Regions from separate parts of the Homo sapiens genome. Here region 2 is linked to region 1. The links are contacts of gene promoters, found by promoter capture Hi-C in human tissues and cell types (Jung and others, 2019). All regions are on one chromosome and are shown on one strand. Each heading gives the region's core, a stretch centred on a gene start or on the middle of the fragment in contact. The rest is flanking DNA. Distances are from core to core; before and after follow the strand shown.

Region 1 (3,537 bases), core at 423-2,922:
GCATTTACATTTTCTATGCATCCTTTAAGGGACACTGAAGATGCTTTTTGATACACTTTCTAAAATATTAAATAGGCATAATGGCTAGGAATATGTAACATTGAAGAAATGTTTCAGAAACTACAGAATCAAAGAGGTTTAAAGAATAAATTTCATATCTCTCTTCCATGTTATTTTATTAGGCAAATAAAAACTACAGGAGACAATTTAACATAAAATACAAATAAATATCTGGGGGTTGTCATCTTAGAGAACTCCCTACTATAAAAAGCAGAAACAACTCAATTTACTTTATATTTCCAGATAGAAAGGTTGGAAAAAGTTTGGAGCCTTATGTGAGATCAAACTTTGGATCTATCGGAAATAAAAGGAAATCATAAATGACTGAGAAATATTTTTAAAGGAAGAAATTATAGGACAAAAAAAGAAATTCATCTTAAACATGTGATCAAGTTACTCTGTGTGACCTTTGAAATTGAAGATTTGGCAATTAAAATTTTAAAGTTCTTCCTCTTATTACCTACCTCTTGAATACAAAGTGTCCGAAACTGCCTAATGGAAAACAGATTTCTCTACGCAGCCTTCCTTGCCGTTCGGGTTGAATGAATTCAACTGGAGATATTGGTTATGACTTTTTTTATTCTTAGTTTCTCTTTGAAAGATAAGCATTGAATAATTCCTGAAAATGGTAAATACTTGCGAAGAGAAAGGTCTTGCTTTATGAATTTAATACGTAGTGGCATTCTTTAAAATTCAGTGTAATTTATGCAGCGAAATGGAAAACTATCAAAGTGGAGGCAATCCAAGGAAAACCTTAGAAAATGATAAACGCGTAAAAAAACGATACGCAACCATCAGAAGGTTCTCTCCTAATGTCTCACTTCGCTCAACAAACTATGGTGAAAAGACAGGGCGGAGGAGAAGGGGCGCTTAAAACAAAAGACTTCCTTTCCCACTCCCTTTTCCTCTGTTTCTTTTGCCAGAGCTTGTTGCAAACTCTTGGAAACATTGTTTAAACATAATACACTTGGTTACTTTATTCTTTCAGGGATTGTGGTGGGTGGTACCTAAAACTGACGGCTCTTGGAGTAACAGAAAAAGAGAAGTAGAAACTTTTCAAAAAGGCAAAAAACAAAGTTACCCAGCCCGCGGAGGTTCTAACAACAAAAAAGTAAAACACACTTTACTTAAAGGCACAGCTCATTTCACTGTCCGGGCTCCGTGCTTGGTAGCTGAGAGAAGGCTTGCTTCGCCTCTGGTTTCTAAAAGATCGCGCGGAGTACAGCTATAGAAAAGAGTGTAAGTTGGGAGCGTTATTCTCGGATTTATTCTGCTACGCGAAAGCTGCGGTTGCTAAAAGCAGAGCGTCCAAAGCAGCACACACCTCGGCTACCATCCTCGTTCTCCTCTGAACATCCAGCGCGAGCTCAGAACCTGGAGGGAATCCTGGACCAGCAACCTGACTCCGCTCGGCACCGATTGGCTCCTGCCTCGGACCCCGCCCCCGTGGCCGGGGCGGCCATTTCGCCGGGACCCGCCCCTTGGCCCTGGGAATCGCCTCCTGGCAGGCCGGCTGTGCCTGCCACTCAGCCCGAGTGGCGGAGGCTCTCAGCTCGGAGCCCCGCCCCCTCCCCCCCTAATTGATATTATTGGAGTGTGGAGCAAGCGGCCGGTCTGCAGTCGGAGACTTGCAGGCAGCAAACACGGTGCGAGCGAACAGGAGTGGGGGGGAAATTAAAAAAAGCTAAACGTGGAGCAGCCGATCGGGGACCGAGAAGGGGAATCGATGCAAGGAGCACAATAAAACAAAAGCTACTTCGGAACAAACAGCATTTAAAAATCCACGACTCAAGATAACTGAAACCTAAAATAAAACCTGCTCATGCACCATGGTTTTTCAAACTCGGTACCCTTCATGGATTATTTTATGCTACATCTGGCTGCTCCGCTTTGCACACACAGGGGAGGCGCAGGCTGCGAAGGAAGGTAAGGTGATGGGAAAGCAAAGTTTGTTCTGACTTATTTATTTAGATGTCTACCTGCACAAGCCAGCTCGTCCGCGGCGCTGCCGGCCGCGCCTCCGGCGCCGGGCGACCCTCCCCCGCCGGCTCCCCGCCCCCTCACCGCTGAGGCCGCTCCTGGCGGACCAGCGAGCGCGAACCAGGGCTGTTCCGAGCCGCCTACAGCCCTGTGCCCGGAGCCGTCCATCCGACGGGTGCGGGATTTCTGGCGCGGGCAGTCTGGAGGGCGTGAGCAGCAACGGGGGTGGGGTGGGGTTGGAGGAACTGCCGGCGAGCTTATTTCTTAGTACCTCAGGCGGGTCACATCTCTCTCTAGCTCGGTCTTCCTTGTCTCCTTATTCGCCTTCTGTGGGAGCTGCGGCCAGAGTTGGGTTGGAGACTGGGAAATGCAGCCCCTACCGTCTCCGCCAGCCCGCCGGCGAGTGGCGGGAGCCCGGAGCCTTCCCAGAGGGACCGAGACTTCGATGAGCTCGGAAAGCTCGGGTTACTAATGAAGTGCTCACTGCGTCGGAGGCGGCGGCGCGGTCCTGCGGTTGGCGCTCGGCCGCCAGCACGGAACAATAACGCCGCGGAGGTGAAGCGCGGCGTGCGGCGCGCGACCCGAGGGCCGGGGATGTCTCCATTCAGCGCGCGCTGCGCGTCGGGCCCAGCGGTCATGGGGGCAGCGGCAGCCCAGCGGGCTTGGTCGGGCCGTGGAGGCAGGGGGCGGGCTGGAGCTGTGCAATTTGTAAGGATGCCGCCTGGGCGACTCAAAGTCCCCAATTATTTGCCCCATAGTGCAGCAATTGAGGAATCCGAGTGCCCAATCCTTGCCAAAGACCTGAACCCTGAGGGTTGGTTCTGGTAGGAGAAGGCAGGTTTTATTTGGCAAGCTGTTACAGATACGCCTGTATATGGTTATGTTTTCCTTCTTTGAACCTTTGACAGAAGGTAAAATACCTTTCGGTGCCTGTAGTTGGAGCTGGGGAAAAATAAACCCTGTCAATGGAAGTCTCTTGCTTTTGAGCAGTGTCACAATCCCATCCCCAACCCCCCTCATCCCGTCGCCCCCCTGGTCTTTCAGGCTGTGTATCTAAGTTTCATTTTTCGATCTGTTAAAAGCAGAAGAGAAATAATTACTTATTCCTGATGTGTAGAGGGAGAGGAATCTGTTATGAAATTTAGGTCATGGTGGTTATCGGGCGGGGTGTTGAGGGGACTTACATATAGGTCCTTGATTCATCTATTTCTGAAAACTTAGTGCACCTTTTCTTTATTCTCATCGTGCACTCCTCTTAGTTCGCTCAAGCCCCCCTCAAACCCGGCGCCAAATTCTAGTCCTTCTTTCAGCCTGACCTTCTGACCCCACTTTCCACATCTGCAACCTGTATAGATGCTGAACCCATTCAGAGAACCCCGTGCCTCCAAGCTGGCGGTTACGCGTTTGCAGAAGGACGGACATCTGCTAGAAACGCACGCTCATCCCCTCCAAAACCACATTTCTACTCCCCTGACGTTAGCGATCAGAAACCTTCAG
Region 2 (3,537 bases), core at 687-3,186, 620 kb after region 1:
GACTCTCTTTGGAAAATATTTATAGAGACGTGCACCCACATGGGTGAAACAAGAGACAGTCATCAACACTGTGGTAGAAACCCAAGAAATCATTAGAAATTTCATTGGTGCTTGAGAAATGAGGGGCCAGGCATACATATAATGCTCGTTAAGAAGAAATGCAACAGCTGAGCTATCTTACAGCTCAGCACCGCCTACAGTCTTTGCTGCCAATCTTAAATTCACTTTGTCTCAGGGATTTTGCAGTGAGTCTTGGCTGCTATAAGAGAGCTTTGGTACTCTCAGGAAGAATTTCATGAGAGAGATGATTTTTTCATGGAAAATCATAGATGAGGCAACAGCTAGCACTAGGGCTCTTACTGCCAAGATTTGGTTTAAAATGTGAATGCAGTTAACTCATGAGAAAATAAGAAACGGACTCAAAGGGACGTTGATAAATTAATTCTGCAAGCCTTGCTAGTCTGGAGTAGAGGGTAGAGTAGGGTGTTAAAATTGTACAATAAAAATAACAGAAATCACACAAAACAAACATTGCAAGGCTAGAGTTCCTTTGGCTAAAAGAACCCTTATATGAAGGGAAAGAAAACAAGTCACTCTCCCTACTGAGGGAAAACTTAAGAGATATTATTCTTGTAATGGACAGCAGATGATATGGATTAAAATGGCGTCCTAAAAAAAAAGACTGACACTAAGCAAATCAAGTCTGATTCAGTCAAACAAACCTTGTGGTTTTAGTCAGAAAGCAATGTGATGGTGGCTTCTGAAATAGAAGATCCCAAAACTGAGAATGTCAGTAATAATGACCTTGCTGCCCCGTAAAAAGTTTAGAATGAGCTGAAAACATTAAAGTTTTGTTTTTGAATTATAAGATACTGCCATGCTGCTTGCAACTGCAGTGAATTCAAAGCCTTGCTTACTGACTCAGAGCTACTCTCTCCCTTCATGTCCTCAGTTCCTCTTTACTCTTACACCTCAAAATTCCTTGCTGTAATGACAAAGATAATCAGGGATGAGACTAGGTCTGCCTGTTTACAAGGGTAACTGAATGCTATATACAGCAATCCAAGGATGTTGGGGGAGCTTCAAGAAGGAGAGAGGCAAACTTTGATGGCGCCATTGGACGGAACTGGCCAAGTCACAATCCTACATGTATGTGGAGGGAGGGGGTGCCCATATTCATCTGATGGGGTTTGAGGAAGTTTTGCAGTAGGAAAGGAAAGGACACTAACATGATATTGTGGGTAGGGCACTGCACTATTTTTGTTCCTTCTCCATTTGAATGTATAGTAAGAATTGACATGTTCATTCTTATATCATCCTGTGTCATAAATTCCTGGAATTCCTTTGATCAAGAAGAGTAACATTTGTGTTTTGTTTTGAGGGCCACAGTGTTCTCAAACATATTTGCATGCGTGTGTATGTGCGTGCATTCACACACACACACACACACACACACACACCTAGAACCCTCCTTCCTTACTGGCCTAAAAAGGAATGGAATACTTTAATCACTTATCATTGCCTTCAAGTTACGACCCTGGCATGCCTCAGATAAAATTGTCATGTATTATATAATATTACTCCTTGCACTATTTGTGGATAAAATCTTATGTACAGAAAATATAAGATACCCTTAAAAATTGAGTATTTAATATCTTAAGTGAAACTTTATGTTTAGTTACACCTTTGAAAGAGTGAAAGAAAATAAGCATGGAGGCACATTAGAAAAAGTGAAGTCCCAGGACATTTAAGCTTAATATGAGAGAATTATGCCTCTCTTTGGTTGTTGGCATGAAGAAGGAGGTTGGTAAATCAAGGATTAGGGAGTGCTCAAGACAAAATTTGCACTATATTAAAATTGTACTATGTGCATCTTTTAGAATAAAGTAAAAACTATCTCTAGGACTCCAACCCTGAATCCTACATGGCTAATATCCTCACAGATATTTGGTGGCATTAATTTGCATGAGTGGCTCTCAGTCCTAAGCATGAAGAGAGAGTTATTCCCTGCCTAAGCTTTATGAAAGGCTCGGGTATCTCTGCCTCATATGATAGGCAAAATTACCTTGAACAATATCCAAGGAGAATTCTGGGAAGATGGTGGAGTAGGAAGCACCAGCAATCAGTCTTTCTACCTCAATAGTAATTGCACTGGCCGTCTCTGACTCTTGTAACTGTTTTGGAAATCTGGAGTCTATTGAAGGCTTGCAACCCCCAGGGGAAGGCTTGATAGGTCAATTTTAGTTCTCAGCATAGTAGCAACCACTTATCCCTCATGTAGGGTAAGCAGGTGTGCATGCATTCCAGGAGCAGCTTGCATACAGTTAGTGGGAGCTAGGGTGGGCAAAAAGGACCCTGTTCTCCAAATATTAGGGAGCTGTGCTCTGATTGCTGATTGCTGCTTCTGATTACTGAGGTGCAGAAAAGGAGGTGGGTAGCCATTGTTCTTATACCTCCCTCATTGTTGCAAGCTGTCCACCCTATAGCTAAAGTGACTTCCAGGGGATTTAAAGGGTTGGCACCCATTCCTCCACTCTTTCATTTTTTCTCTTTTCCCTTTTTTGGGAGCCAGATATTTATGACTAGGACATTCACAAATAACAGCATATACAGGAAAATTAGAAAGTGACCATACTTGCCAGGGAAAGGCACAGACTCAGGAAACACCCGAGAAAACCTTAAGTTTACATCACAGGCTGATCCTTAGCACAGGGACAACCTACAACAATTTAAAAAGAATAAATAAAAACAACAAATAGCAAACTCTGGGGAAGGGAAAGAATATGATTTCCTGAATTGCCACATTATTAGATTCAAATGTCCAGTTCTTGCCAAAAAAAAAAAAAAAATCACAAGACACACAAAGAAACAGAAAAGTATGGCCCACTCAAAGAAAAAATAAACTATGGAAATTGTTCCTGAAAAGAACAGAAAGTATATCTACTAGATAAAGATTTCGAAGAACTGTCTTAAATATGCTCAAATAATTAAAGATGGGGAGAAAGCTAAGAAAACAATATATGAACAAAATGAAAATATCAATAAAGAGTTAGAAAACCTAGAAATGAACCAAAAAAATTATAGAACTGGAAAGTACAATAGTTAAAATGAAAAAAAAAATACTAGAAGGATTCAAAGGCAGATTTGAGTAGGGAGAAGAAGGAATCAGTGACCTTGAAGGTAGGACAATGGAAATTATCAAGTCTGAGAAACAGAAAGAAAAAAGTTTGAGGAAAAGTGAACTAAACCTAAGAAATCTGTGGGACACCATTAAGCAGAAATCAACATAAAATTGCAGGAGTCCCAAAGGAGAAGAGACAAAGTTCCAGAGAGAATATTTTAAAAAATAATAGCTAAACACTTTCTAAATTTGATGAAAGATATGAATATAAACATCCAAAGAGCTCAACAAACTGTAGGTAAAATGAACTCAAGGACATCTACATGGAGAAACATTATAATCAAATTTTTACAAGCCAAAGACAGAGAATCTTGAAAGCAGCAAGAGGGAAGTAACTTGTCATATACAAGAGTACC

The links. Contacts are between HindIII fragments. The study calls those that stand out against the background at their distance.
Region 2: a fragment that was not itself captured here is called in contact with the fragment with the promoter of EPHA7 in region 1 in 1 of the 25 tissues and cell types used here (mesenchymal stem cells).

Annotation. Positions count from the first base shown.
Region 1 is chr6:93,417,694-93,421,230 of GRCh38, reverse strand. EPHA7 (EPH receptor A7) reads left to right here and starts at 1,672. Exons shown (of 17, transcript NM_004440.4): 1 at 1,672-1,986. The coding sequence starts at 1,890. RefSeq lists a silencer at 1,425-1,624. The HindIII fragment of the contact is 11,378 bases long and covers 1-3,537 here.
Region 2 is chr6:92,798,002-92,801,538 of GRCh38, reverse strand. No RefSeq gene overlaps it. Among named protein-coding and RNA genes, the nearest start is that of LINC02531, 76 kb to the right of the region's middle. The HindIII fragment of the contact is 3,748 bases long and covers 63-3,537 here.